Linked DNA regions of Homo sapiens: all the other regions are linked to region 2. Evidence: promoter capture Hi-C in 16 types of primary human blood cells and fetal thymus (Javierre and others, 2016). All regions are on one chromosome and are shown on one strand. Each heading gives the region's core, a stretch centred on a gene start or on the middle of the fragment in contact. The rest is flanking DNA. Distances are from core to core; before and after follow the strand shown.

The links. The method cuts DNA at HindIII sites, captures the fragments that hold promoters and counts their contacts. A CHiCAGO score of 5 or more calls a contact.
Region 1: a fragment that was not itself captured here is called in contact with the fragment with the promoter of TOR1B in region 2 in 8 of 17 cell types (total CD4 T cells, naive CD8 T cells, megakaryocytes and 5 more); the score reaches 7.8 in total CD4 T cells.
Region 3: a fragment that was not itself captured here is called in contact with the fragment with the promoter of TOR1B in region 2 in 4 of 17 cell types (megakaryocytes, activated CD4 T cells, erythroblasts and 1 more); the score reaches 6.1 in megakaryocytes.
Region 4: a contact is called between a fragment that was not itself captured here and the fragment with the promoter of TOR1B in region 2, in 6 of 17 cell types (total CD4 T cells, total CD8 T cells, naive CD8 T cells and 3 more). The highest score is 7.4, in total CD4 T cells.
Region 5: a fragment that was not itself captured here is called in contact with the fragment with the promoter of TOR1B in region 2 in 1 of 17 cell types (megakaryocytes); the score reaches 6.2 in megakaryocytes.

What each region holds. Positions count from the first base shown.
Region 1 is chr9:130,095,293-130,098,141 of GRCh38, forward strand. The region is part of intron 9 of GPR107 (G protein-coupled receptor 107); the gene reads left to right. Among named protein-coding and RNA genes, the nearest start is that of GPR107, 43 kb to the left of the region's middle. The HindIII fragment of the contact is 8,854 bases long and covers 1-2,849 here.
Region 2 is chr9:129,801,900-129,804,670 of GRCh38, forward strand. TOR1B (torsin family 1 member B) reads left to right here and starts at 1,285. Exons shown (of 5, transcript NM_014506.3): 1 at 1,285-1,512; 2 at 2,174-2,439. The coding sequence starts at 1,314. RefSeq lists silencers at 1,365-1,494, 1,555-1,674. The HindIII fragment of the contact is 11,148 bases long and covers 1-2,771 here.
Region 3 is chr9:130,239,787-130,242,486 of GRCh38, forward strand. It overlaps MIR12126 (microRNA 12126), which reads left to right and starts at 1,601; the gene lies at 1,601-1,702. RefSeq lists enhancers at 1-62, 143-322, 844-1,138. The HindIII fragment of the contact is 900 bases long and covers 900-1,799 here.
Region 4 is chr9:130,077,912-130,080,616 of GRCh38, forward strand. GPR107 (G protein-coupled receptor 107) reads left to right here. Exons shown (of 18, transcript NM_020960.5): 5 at 1,719-1,858. Among named protein-coding and RNA genes, the nearest start is that of GPR107, 25 kb to the left of the region's middle. The HindIII fragment of the contact is 1,634 bases long and covers 465-2,098 here.
Region 5 is chr9:130,111,551-130,114,299 of GRCh38, forward strand. All of the region lies in intron 14 of GPR107 (G protein-coupled receptor 107), which reads left to right. Among named protein-coding and RNA genes, the nearest start is that of GPRACR, 31 kb to the right of the region's middle. The HindIII fragment of the contact is 3,979 bases long and covers 1-2,749 here.

The sequences.
Region 1 (2,849 bases), core at 44-2,543, 290 kb after region 2:
GTTTAGTAGCCAGGGGTTCAGTGGTGTTTTAATTTTCCTTTAGTTATTGGTGGCAATAGTCATTGTCACTGGTTCACTTGTATCAAATTGTGGTAACAGTTTTCTTTATTTTATTTTTTTTGAGACAGAGTCTCGCTCTGTCGCCAGGCTGGAGTGCAGTGGTGCAATCTTGGCTCACTGCAACCTCTGCCTTCTGGGTTTGAGTGATTCTTCTGCCTCAGCCTCCCAAGTAGCTGGGACTACAGGCGTCCGCCACCATGCCTGGCTTATTTTTGTATTTTTAGTAGAGACGGGGTTTCACCATGTTGGCTGGGATGGTCTTGATCTCTTTACTTCGTGATCCACCTGCCTTGGCCTCCCATTGTGCTGGGATTACCAGCATGAGCCAGTGCACCCAGACCGTGATAACACAGTTTTCAATCTGTGGTTAAATGAGGCTGACCTATTGTGTACAAGTCTCATCTGTAATTTTTGTTGGAGTATAGTGTGCATGGGGGAAGGTCAGTTAAGTCCTGCCCATGTTTTCCCGGGAGTCTTAGAGTCAGTTCTGGTAGGCTGGAAACCCACATGATATAAAGGCATATGACCAAGGCCGCCAGGCGCATTTCACTGGCCCCTGAAAGCTGGAAACGACTAAGAGATCTTTGCCTCATTTATTGAGGCCCAGAGAGGGGAAACGAGAGCCAGTGTCACCCAACAGACCTGGGACTGGAACTCGGGTCTGCTTGCTAGTATGTATCAGGCCCCTCCCAACTTCAAGTGTAGGTAGAACTAGTATTTGAGCCGAGGTCAGTGAGTATTCTTTCCATCACATCTCTGCCCCATCGTAGATATTCTAACCATGGACTGCAAGTCAAGGTTGCCAGAGTGTGAATGAGCACAGCTCTTTGTGGTGGGTGGTTTTACACTCTGGGTAAATCTCATTGGCATTCAGTAGTTCCAGGCTATTCTGGCCTTGACTTCCCTTTTGACCTTCAAGTAGGTGGGCACTGGAACAGGAAAGTACCAGGGAGGAAATGAGCCCAGAAACTGATATCCCTTTGTGGTACACTCTCATTCTCACTTGGTGCCAGGCCCCTCTCCTGCTCTATTGTTCCCCTTCATTTCCTGTCCCCTCTCCCACTCCTTCCCAGTAGTGGAGAACTGCTCAAATGTGTTGCATATACATTTTTGGACTTTTTTTTTTTTTTTTTTGAGACCTCGTCTCACTCTGTGCCCCAGGCTGGAGTGCAGTGGTGCAATCTCAGCTCACTGCAACCTCCGCCTCCCGGGTCAAGCAATTCTCGTGCTTCAGCCTCCCGAGTAGCTGGGACTACAGGCGCCTGCCACCATGCCCGGCTAATTTTTGTATTTTTCGTAGAGACGGGGTTTCACTACGTTGGCCAGGCTGGTCTAGAATTCCTGACCTCAGGTGATCGGCCTCCCAAAGTGCTGGGATTACAGGCGTGAGCCACTGCGTCTGGCCTGATTTTTGGATATTTCTATATTCTTATAGATAAGTACTGTTTACTGGTGTTGCATTTATTTTAAGTTTACATAAAATATCTATAGACGTTGTTGTACATTTTTTACTCAGTATTATCCTTTCTGCGATCTAGCCATGTGGCTGAGTGTGCATCTCATTCATTGATTTTTACCTACTCCACAGCATCCCATGCTCTGTGTCCTCACGTTTGACTGCTTTGGTCCTTTAGTGATAGACACACGCCTGGACTGCCTACATCTCCCTGCTACCTCAGCCAGTGCTGGCATGTACCTCCAAAGATCCCCTGTGGATCTGTGCAGCCTCCGAGCTGCAGTCCCAGAAGGAAGCACACTGTGCCATGGGTAGTTAATTTCTTTTCTTTACTTTTCTTTTTTTTCTTTTTTTTTTTTTTTTTGAGACAGAGTCTCACTCTGTCACCCAAGCTGGAGTGCAGTGGCACCATCTTGGCTCATTGCAACCTCCACCTCCTGAGTGCAAGCGATTCTCCTGCCTCACCCTCCTGAGTAGCTGGGACTATAGGCATGTACGCCCATGCCGGGCTAATTTTTGTATTTTTAGTAGAGACGGGTTTTCACTGTGTTGGCCAAGCAGGTCTTGAACTCCTGGCCTCAAGAGATCCTCCCGCCTCGGCCTCCCAAAGTGCTGGGACTACAGGCATGAGCCACTGCGCCCAGCCATCAGTTAATTTCGTTAAGGGCCAGATTGCCTTCCAGTGTGGCATATAGGTTTATACGTCTACCAGTGGTGCATACATAATAAGGTTTGCTGTTTCTCCACATTCTTACCAATACTGACATCTTAATTTTTGCCAATCTGATAGGTGTAAAGTGGTATCTTGCTTTATTTTGCGTTTCTCTGAATATTGGTGATGTGGATTATCATTTTAGAGACTTAACCATTTCCCCTCTTGTGGCTGCCTGTATTCTTTGGGTTTTTTTTTTTTTTTTTGAGACAGGGTCTCACTAAGTTGTCCAGGCTGGAGCAGTGGCGTAATCAAGGCTTACAGCAGCCTCAAACTCCTGAGCTCAAGTGATCCTCCCACCTCAGCCTCCCGAATAGCTGAAACTATAGGGACGCACCACCACTCCTGGCTTAATTTTTGTTTGTTTTGAGACCGTTTTGAGACAGGGACTCGCTCTGTCACCCAGTCTGGAGTGCAATGGCACAGTCACGGCTCATTGCAGCCTTTGCCTCCTGGGCTCAAGTGATCCTCCCACATCAGCCTCCCAAGTAGCTGGGACTACAGGTGTGCACCGCCACACCCAGCTAACTTTTTGTATTTTTGGTAGAGATGGAGTTTTGTCATCTTGCCCAGGCTAATCCCAAACTCTTGGGCTTAAGTAATCTTCCCACCTCAGCCTCC
Region 2 (2,771 bases), core at 35-2,534:
AAGCTCTGAAGAAAACAAATCCAGCCATAAGCCCACTCCTGTAACCCCAGGCTTTGGAAGACGGAGGCAGGTAGATCGCTTGAGGTCAGGAGTTCGAGACCAGCTTGGGCCACATGGCGAAACCCCGTCTCTACTAAAAACACAAAAGTTGGCTGGGCGTGTTGGCGGGCACCTATAATCCCAGCTACTCCAGCAGCTGAGATGGGAGAATCGCTTGAACCTGGGAGGAAGAGTTTGCAGCGAGCCGAGATCCTGCCACTGCGCTCCAGCCGGGGCGACAGAGCCAGACCCTGTCCCCAATATACATATCAGATAAGAAAAAAATATAAGAAAGTTTAAAAAAATTTTTTTTGGCTTTTTTTTGTTTTTTTTGAGACGGAGTCTCGCTCTGTCGTCCAGGCTGGAGTGCAGTGGCACGATCTCGGCTCACTGCAAGCTCCGCCTCCCAGGTTCACGCCATTCTCCTGCCTCAGCCTCCCGAGTAGCTGGGACTACAGGCGCCCGCCACCATGCCCGGCTGATTTTTTCTATTTTTCGTAGTGATGGGATTTCACTGTGTTAGCCAGGATGGTCTTGATCTCCTGACCTCGTGATCCGCCTGCCTCGGCCTCCCAAAGTGCTGGGATTACAGGCGTGAGCCGCCGCGCCCGGCCAGCCTTTTTTTTTTTTTTTGAGACAGTTTCGCTCTTGTCGCCCAGGCTGGAGTGCAGTGGCACGATCTCGGCTAACTGCAACCTCCGCCTCCTGGGTTCAAGAGATTCTCCTGCCTCAACCTCCCGAGTAGCTGGGATTACAGGCGCCCGCCACCACACCCATCTAATTTTTTGTATTTTTAGTAGAGACGGGGTTTCGCCACGTTGAGCAGGCTGGTCTCGAACTCCTGACATCAGGTGATCCGCCCGCTTCAGCTTCCCAAAGTGCTGGGATTACAGGCGTGAGCCACGGCGCCCGGCCAAAAAAAAAAAATTTTTTTTTTTTTTTTTAGATATTTTTTCACTCTTGTTGCCCAGGCTGGAGTGCAATGGCGTGATCTCGGCTCGGCCTCCCAAAGTCCTGGGATTACAGGCGTGAGCCACCGCGCCCGGCCCGAAAAAATTTTTTTAAAAGAAAAGGGAAACAAAACAGTCTCCTACACCTTCGGACCACTCCCAAGAACGATGGCACCGCCCTCCTCTCCGCCCCTCACCAACATGGCCGCCCCCAAGGGAGTGGGCGGGTCTGCGGGGCGGAAGTGACGCACGAGAGGAAGTCCGTCCTGCCGCTTGGCCGCGGGGCGCCTGGCTCAGTGGCTTCTGCGGGCTTCGAGGAGCGGGATGTTGCGGGCTGGGTGGCTCCGGGGCGCGGCGGCGCTGGCGCTGCTGCTGGCGGCCCGAGTGGTGGCGGCGTTCGAGCCCATCACCGTGGGCCTAGCCATCGGGGCCGCGTCGGCCATCACCGGCTACCTGTCCTACAATGACATCTACTGCCGCTTCGCCGAGTGCTGCCGCGAGGAGCGGCCGCTCAACGCTTCGGGTACGGCGCGCGCGCGAGCTGTGGGTCGGCGCTGCGGGGGGCGCGGGGGCGCGGGGGCGCGGAGGGACGGCCTCGTGGGCGCCTGGCACGGACCGGGCCCGTGGCATCTAGACGGCGGTGGTCCCAGCTGGGGTGGGCGGGGAGCGGATGGGGCGGCCCCGGAACCGTTCGCGGGAACGCAGAAGCGGTGCCTTCGCAAACAGTCTCCAGATCGTGGGGCTGCCCCAGCGCCTTTCTAAAGCTCCCGTTCCTTGGGATCACAGGTGGAAGAAACGGAAAGTAGGCGGGCGGCCCTTCTGCGCCCTGCCAACCCTATTAAGTAGTTTTCAGACGTGCTGCGTCGCCCAGAAAGCCCACATTTGGCCCCTGGTTTTCCTGCAGGTCAGCAAGGGTGGCTGGGATTAGCAAGCGCTCAGTCAAGCGATGGTTCATCTCTGAATGAATGAACATTTAGCTTCCTTATCAGACCCCGAAGCGTTAAGGACCTCCACATAATCTTGAAAGTGGCATCGTTTGACTGCCTCGGCCCTAGGGTGTGGCAGACACCCTGCTGTGTCCCTGGATAATCTGTGCTTCTTGCTTTGGCCAGCTAAGAAAGTGCTGCGTTGCTGATGCATTTTTAAGGTCTGTTTCTCTCTTTGTTCTGGGGCTGTTCTTGCAGCTCTCAAGCTGGATTTGGAGGAGAAGCTGTTTGGACAGCATCTAGCCACGGAAGTGATTTTCAAGGCGCTGACTGGCTTCAGGAACAACAAAAATCCCAAGAAACCACTGACCCTTTCCTTACACGGCTGGGCTGGCACAGGCAAGAATTTTGTCAGTCAAATTGTGGCTGAAAATCTTCACCCAAAAGGTCTGAAGAGTAACTTTGTCCACCTGTTTGTATCGACTCTGCACTTCCCTCATGAGCAGAAGATAAAACTGTACCAGGCAAGAGAACCCGCTATTATCTCGTCTGCAGGCCAGTCGGACTGGTCCGGGTGACCTGCTCACTAACTCTGGCCTCTGCTTCTCTTTCCTTTGTGTTGCTGTAGCCCCCGGCTCCACTGAGTTAAGGCACACTTAGTCCAGGTAGTTACAAAGCTCTCCTACAACATTTCTCTTACTTGGTTCCAAAACAGTCCAGTGGGGTAGGGGATGTTATTTCCATTAAAAGATGGGGAGCCAAGGGCCTGGCGCCGTGGCTCACGCCTGTAATCCCAGCATTTTGGGGAAGCCGAGGCGGGCGGATCATTTGAGGCCAGGAGTTTGAGACCAGCCTG
Region 3 (2,700 bases), core at 100-2,599, 440 kb after region 2:
TGATTCCTGACTAGACTGTTTCACACACTTGGGGACTGTCCCTGAGGCAGAGATTGGAGGTAATTTACATACCCACACAATGTGCTGTTTCCACCGAAGCACTGAAAGTAAATCTGTGCACGGGCGCCTGTCTTTGGAAATACCAAGCTCTGGTTCAGAAGGCCGTTGTGAGGGCAGCTGGGGCAATGTTTCCAGCAGAGGGTGAGCTTGAACGGGGGTGAGCTGTTGGTGGAGGAAGCTCAGGTCTTTTCCAGCAGCCTTGGGCGTGGTGCCTACAGGGACCACGGTTCAGAAATGGTGTTGCTGAGGGCACATGATGGGTCATGGTCCCTTGCTCTGCTCGAGTCAGGCTAAAGCCTGTGCTGACTCACCCCCTGGCCCAGCCTGCGCTGGATGGCTTACTGTGGGCTGAAGCTCAGTAGAGGCACAGACCTGGCCACCTGCTTTATCAGGATGGCTCAGATTGGCTGCTATTCCCTGGGTGTGATAGCACCAGTGAGTCCTCCTAGAGGGACCATCCTAGAGGTCCCATTTCTCCCCACCTCGGGCCTTCCACCCTGTCCCCACTGACCCTGCCAAGCCCCAAACTCACATCTGCATATTAGAAAGTATCTCTCTAAATTGTACTCCCCAAAGCCCAGCTCAGGGCATCCCCAGGCATACAGAGGAGATGACAAGGAGAAGAGTAGGGAGTCGGGCTGGGAGTGGGAATGCAATGTGGATCCCTGCCCTACAGTGGCCCCCTCCTCCCTGCCATCTTCCTGCCCAGGGAGTACAGAGGCAGAAACTTACCCTCCAGGTTCATTGGTCTGGAGGAACTGGTTCAGGACAGTGGGCATGGAAAGGGGCTGGGAAGGCCCCCTGAACTTAGGCAAAATGAGCTTGTGTAGGTATGGAAAAGCTTTCTACTTCTTCCCCTTATCTCTTTTTAGCTGGGCACAGGGCCATGTGGAACAAAGGACTACATTTCCCAGCCTCCCTTGTGGCTGAGTGCGGCCATGTGACCCAGTTCTATCCAATAGGATGAGAACAATGAGCATAACTTTCCCTCTTCCCTCTTCCTGCTGACTGGATGGAGGACTCTGAAACAAGCCTTCCTAGAACTGGGTCTTTGACCCCATGGAGCTGCCACACCAGCTTTGGACCATTTACACTGGAGCTCTTAGGAGGAAGAGAGACACACATTTATCTTGATTAAGCCATCCTGAGTCTCTGTGTCAACAGCCCAATTTATATTCTCCCTAATGTACCCAGTGATCTGCTGGGTCGCTTTCAATGACCTGATGCCACCTGCAAATGTTTGCATCGAAACTCTCAATGTTTGCCAAAGTGACTTAATAAACAACCATACAGTGCCATGTGCTGGTGTAACTACTGCTTGCTCATGCCTTTCCCACCCGTCTTCTGCCTTTTCCCTCTTCCTGTCCCAATATGCCCTCCTCCTCCAAGGGCTCAGGGGACTGAGGGTCCCAGCCAGAGGGACTCCTGTGGGAAAGACTTTCTTTTGCAGAAGCACTAGGGACCTAGAGGCTCTAGGTTATTGGGGAGCCCAGGGCAGCCCCTGAGGACCGGGCCAGTTGGGTTTTCACTGGGTAACCACAGGAAGGGGACTGGGCAGGCTGGCCTAGGGTTGAGCTCAGGAAGGATTCTGCCAGGGGTTTCAAGACTTGGGGACCAGACCTTTTCTTGTCTCTACAATTTCCTTCCTCAGAAATTGCTCCCTTCCTCCCAGAAACCTAAAATAAGCCATCCACATGAGCAGATCTTGGGGATAAAAAAATATGATAAAGAGTAAAACAAGCTTTTTTCTGACAGTCAGGGAGAAGGGTGGGAAGAGTCCCTTTGGTATCATTGTCAGATGACTGAGAGTAGGTCCCGTTTTAGTCACTGGACTGTTGGTTGCCCCCAGAGGTGAGGGGAAGTCTTTGTGATATTGTGGAGTGCCCACTTTATTCTTTGAGGATTCTGAAGACCCAATTCCTATGTTGGGCATCAAGAGGCCCTTCCTGCCTTAGAAGGGGCAGATCTGTGGAATGCCAGGGGCCCGAGCTGGGACCTGCAGGGGAAGGTGCAAGTGCTGGCCTGGAAGGAGGGAGAAAGGGAGCTCCCAGGCCAGACGTGGTGGCTCACGCCTGTAATCCCAGCACTTTGGGAGGCTGAGACAGGCGGATCACTTGAAGCCAGGAGTTCGAGACCAGCCTGGTCAACATGGTGAAACTCCACCTCTACCAAAAATACAAAAATTAGCTGGGCATGGTGGCGTGTGCCTGTAATCTCAGGTAGTCGGGAGGCTGAGGCAGGAGAACCGCTTGAACCCAGGAGGTGGAGGTTGCAGTGGGCCGAGATCACACCACTGCACTCCAGCCCGGGTGACAGAACGAGACTCCATCTCAAAAAAAACAAAAAGCAAAAAACAAAGGGAGCTCCCAGTCATGGGAAGGGAATCAGAGGGAACCCTGAGGTTCGGATTCTACCCCCATGCTCGTCCATCAGATCAACTAATACAAGCTGGATGCTGCTTAAGTGATTTCTAGGCAGAAGCCTAAAGCTAACCAGAATCCTTCACCCATTTCCACAGGGATGAATGAGAGCCTGGAGTGTATATGCTGGGCAGCCACAGTGCCAGGCTTCTGCCACAGCCTGTGATGAATGCTAGCCTGGTTCAAGAAGGAAGGCCGGGGGCGGTGGCTCATGCCTGCA
Region 4 (2,705 bases), core at 32-2,531, 280 kb after region 2:
TCCCAGCCCTTTGGGAGGCCGAGGCGGACGGATCACGAGGTCAGGAGATTGAGACCATCCTGGCTAAAACAGTGAAACCCCGTCTCTACTAAAAATACAAAAAATTAGCCGGGCGTGGTGGTGGGCGCCTGTAGTCCCAGCTATTCGGGAGGCTGAGACAGGAGAATGGTGTGAACCCAGGAGGCGGAGCTTGCGGTGAGCCGAGATCGCGCCACTGCACTCCAGCCTGGGTGAGAGAGTGAGACTCCGTCTCAAAAAAAAAAAAAAAATGTTGAACTTTGATGAATTATCAGACTTTGTGTTTTCAAGTTCAGCATACTTCCAACTGCGTACTTTGTAATTGCTGAGGGAGCCTTTAAGGTAGGAATCATGTGCTCAGACTTGCCTGTAAGGTAGACTCCTAGCAGCCCAGAAGAGGATGGATTTGAGATGAACAAGACTGGAGGTAAGAAGACTAATGAATAAGCTTCTAAAAAAAAAATGCTTTGTCATAAAACCATTGTAGACCCTAACTTTTAAAATATTCTCCGTGATAACCTCTGTTTTCATTTAAGAAGATTGATCTGACAGTCTCCTGTATTGGTCAGTCTACTTTTGGAAGCAAGCAACAAAAGACTTGACTTAGACTCTGGCGTGAATAGTGAAGACATTGATTACCTCACCTATGTGCAGTGGGGCAGGCGAGAGACAGGCCTGCGGTGGCTTGCTGATGTTAGGGACTCTGGTGCATTTCATCTTTCTGCTCTGCCATCCTGAGTGTTAGCTTCTTCCTCAGGCAGGTTTCCCAGCCATCACAAGGTGGCTCTGCTCCATCATTCATATCCAGCCAAGGGACAGAGAGCAGGCTCCTCCTCCAGGTAGAATGAGAAGTGCTTGAATGTGCCAGCTTAGGTTGGGCATCCACTCAGTCATGGGAACTGTCACTGGCCCCTCCTGGGTGGGATGGGGTAAACAAAATTGGGTCTCATGAGAAGGGGGAAGGGTGGAAATGGATATTAGGAGGCAACTAACAGTGCCACTGCCCTCTCGTGCTTCCCTGGATTTCACTTGCTTTCTTTATTTTTTGAGACGGGGTCTCGCTCTGTGGCCCAGGCTGGAGTGCAGTGGCACGATCTTGGCTCATTGCATCCTCCACCTCCCAGGTTCAAGCGATTCTCCTGCCTTAGCCTCCCAAGTAGCTGGGATTACAGGTGCATGCCAACACACCCGGCCAGTTTTTTTTTGTAATTTTAGTAGAGACAGGGTTTTGCCATGTTGGCCAGGCTGTTCCTGAATTCCTGACCTCAAGTGATCCACCCGCCTCAGCCTCCCAAAGTGCTGAGATTACAGGCGTGAGCCACCATGCCTGGCCTGGATTTCACTTTAAAGTCTTACTGATGTTTTACATTTTGTCCGTTTCTCTTGTGCACCAATTTGCTGAGCATTTTAACGATACTTAAGGAGAAAGATGTACCTCAGAATTGTGTGGTTACTAAGATCTTAGGCTTAAGAGAGACTACCTGGATCCTCGTCCAACTACTTCCTAGCTTGGTGCCCTTGGGCAAGTTATTTAACGTTTCTGAGCCTCAGTTTTGGTATCTGTAGAATGTGGATAATAGAATCTACATTGTAGAACATGATAAGGACTGCATGAGCTTGGCACAGGGCCTACACGCAGCGTGCTCAGTGGCCAGGAGCACTGCTTTGACCTTTTTTCCTTCTGTCTTATTTGAATGTAGGGTAAGAGTAAAGTCTCCACCAGAAGCTGGTACCCAGTTACCAAAGATCATCTTCAGCAGGGATGAGAAAGTCCTTGGTCAGAGCCAGGAGCCTAATGTTAACCCTGCTTCAGCAGGCAACCAGACCCAGAAGACACAAGGTAAACCGTAAGGTGGAAACTGGCTTTCAGTTTTCACTACCTGCTTTGTAGCTTTTTTGTTCCTAATTAAAAGTAAAAGTAAAACATGATCTGTTGTCGTCTTAGCATTATATTTTGGAAGTTACACAAAAATACGTAAATGTTAAAGAAAAATGTGGAAAATCTGAAGCAGATGGAAAAACAACAGTCATTTCTCCTTATTCCCAGTGTTAGAATTTTAGTAATTTATGTTTTCTTATAAGCTTGTTTCATAAGTCTAGAACATTTGATTTTTAAAATTCAGTCATGCTTATAATTTTATATACATGCCTGATTACTTTTTAGCCCATTTCATACCTATCATATATCCTGTTAAGCAGATACTGTAATTTGCTCAACCTTTCCCCTTAAGGAGACACATTTCCATTTTTGTGTGATTATGAATATTGCTGCAGTGGACTTCTTTATGCATAGAACTGTCTTCGTATAGCGAACGTTCTTTAAGATGGTTTTCAGAATTGCAATTTCTGGTTCAAAGGATATGAATGCATTTGAGAATATTGATGTATATTTTTAAATTCCTTTCCAAATGAGTTGTGTGGATTTATATTCTTATCAGAAATATGTAGGAATAGTGGGCACATTATCATGTCCTAGCCAATATGGGGTATTTTCTTTTCAAAAAACAAAATCCTAAAATGAAAGGCAAAAAAGGTATTCCTGTTTATTTATTTATTTATTTATTTATTTATTTATTTTTTGAGACGGAGTCTCGCTCTGTCGCCCAGGCTGGAGTACAGTGGCGCAATCTCGGCTCACTGCAAGCTCCGCCTCCCGGGTTCACGCCATTCTCCTGCCTCAGCCTCCC
Region 5 (2,749 bases), core at 105-2,604, 310 kb after region 2:
AACACTATGGCAAAGAATCTCATTTTTAGTTTAGGTGCAGTCCAGGCCCAGTAACTGCAAGTGAGAGACATGCCATTTGTAGTTTTCCTTCCTGCATTGGGGTGAATACAGCTTTCCGTTTTGGGGTGAATACAGCTTTCAGTTTTGGGGTGAATACAGTTTTCAGTTTTGGGGTGAATACAGCTTTCAGAGAGTGTTTGTTTGGCTTTTACTTTGTTGTCTCTGGATTCCTTTTGACCAAACCTGAGGGAAATCTAAAGGAAAGCATTGAGGCCGAAGCTGCCCACTGTCCTTTAGCCGCGTCTTTGTCTCTCCTGTCACGCGCAGTGGCTTCTCTCAGGTCCTCGGTCACTGAGACTCACAGCTGCACTGCATCCTCCGAGAGGGAGCTTAATTGAGTCTCGCACAGACACACCTAGCGCTGGCTCCACTCTGTCTCGCCTGCTAAGATTTACTGGCTCTGACTGCCCTTGAGCCCGCATCCGCGTTCCCTTCTCTTTCTCCAGTGTCATTACCTTATAGGACTGGCGTCGAGATACACACCGTAAATTTAATTAACAGTCTCTGCTGCTCACCATCCTTTTTTTGGGCCTTGTGTTTCTGAGGAAAAGTCAGAAGATGTATTCTGAAGAGCCTTAGCTTTCATGTGAGCTTCAGAAGTATTTAAACAATCCCGGTTGGCTGGCTGCAGAGTTGATGGAGGAACGGCTTCATTCCGAGGTGCCGCCGTGCTCTGAAAGGAGCCGCGACCATGCGAGGCATTTGTTAGGGCAGCGGTTCTCAAGGGGGTCCTCGGGATCAAAACTATTTTCATAATCATACGGTGTGAGTCTCTTGTGCTGTTGACATTTGCCTGATGGTGAAAAGCAATGATGGGTGAAATTGCCGGCACCGTCACGTGATTCCAGGCTGTGGTACCAGAATCTGCCAGTAGCCACTGCATTCTTTACTGTCACCTACTCACAGGGGGTGAAAAAGGCTCATATCACTTAAGAATGGTCTTGAAATAATAAAACTGTTGATGTGATTAAATCTCAACCCTTGCCTTTTAATATTCTGTGAGACAGCATGGGAGGTGTGCACACAGCACTGCTGCTGGGCCTGAAGTGTGATGGGTGTGGCCTTGAGGGAAAGTACGTGTGCACTTGTTTGAATTGCAAGCTGAACTAGCTGCTTTTATTTTATTTTTTTGTTGTTTTTTATTTATTTATTTTTTTGAGACAGGGTCTTGCACTGTTGCCCAGGCTGGAGTCCAGTGGTGTAATCTTGGCTTACTGCAGCCTCAACCTCCTGGGCCCAACCGATCCTCTCACCTCAGCCCTCAAAGTAGCTAGGACTACAGGCGTGTGCTGCTATGCCTGGCTAATTTTTGTATTTTTTGTAGAGATAGGATTTTGTCATATTGCCCAGGCTAGTCTCAAACTCCTGAGCTCAAGTGATCCACCCACCTAGGCCTCCCAGAGTACTGAGATAACAGGCATGAGCCACTGTGCCTGGCCAAGCTGCTTTTATCTGGAAGAATGACTGTTATGGTGACACAGACATGGGTTTGTGGTGGACATTTTCTTGAAAATGAACAAAGTGAACATATTACTTCAACAAAAACAACTAATAGTATTTGTTGCCAGTGATAAAAGAAAACTTGTGTTTATCCCTGTCAGCCTGACAGTTTCCTAACTGACAGTTTCCCAGATCTTTTTTTTTTTTTTTTTTTTTCCTTGAGTCAGGCTGGAGTGCAATGGCACAATCTCAGCTCACTGCAGCCTTGACCTCCTGGGCTCAAGTGAGCCTCCCACTGCAGCCTCCTGAGTAGGTGGGACTACAGGTCTTTCCACCATGCCCGGCTAATTCTTATATTTTTTGTAGAGACGGGGTCTCAATTTGTTGCCCAAGCTGGTCTCAAACTCTGACCTCAAGTGATCCACCCACCTCGGCCTCCCAAAGTGCTGGGATTATAGGTGTGAGCCACCACACCCGGCCAGTTTCCCAGTTCTTATAAGACTTATGATGTAAGCAGAGGTGATACTAACAATGTGATTTTTTTAAGAATTCTATAATAAAATGTTTCTGTATCTGGGAGATCTACATAACACACTGAAACATTGTCTTCCACCTGGCCAGTGCAGGATGTTCCATAGTCATGCATGGGGGTAAAAGCTCTCCTGAAAGTGCAGGATGGACCAGTGGAGTTTATTAATGTAAGAGTGTGGAAAGTTCATTGATAAATTTCAGATTCCCCACCTCCCTCATCTTTAGAAGCAACCTCTTGTCAGGTTTTAATGTAGAATCACAGACTATTCACAGTAATCTGAAAAGGCCTACATCTATCTGTATGGGGCCAGATTTTCTTCATATATTTTCACCAAATACTCCCTCACAGCAAGTTGAATGCTGATTGAATCAAATATGAGAACCCAGCTGCATGTTATTAAGCTAGACATTAAAGAGAATTACAAAAATAATTCTGGTCTTCTCATTCTTTTTTTTTTTTTTTTTTTTCATTTTTTTTTTTTAGAAAAGAGGTTTTTTATTTTGGGGCCAGGCACAGTGGCTTATGCCTGTAATCCCAGCACTTTGGGAGGCGGAGGCAAACGGATCAGTTGAGGTCAGGAGTTCGAGACCAGCCTGGCCAACATGGTAAAACCCTGTCTCTACTAAAAATACAAAAATTAGCTGAGCGTGGTAGCGCACACCTGTAATCCCAGCTACTCGAGAAGCTGAGGTAGAAGGATTGCTTGAACCCGGGAGG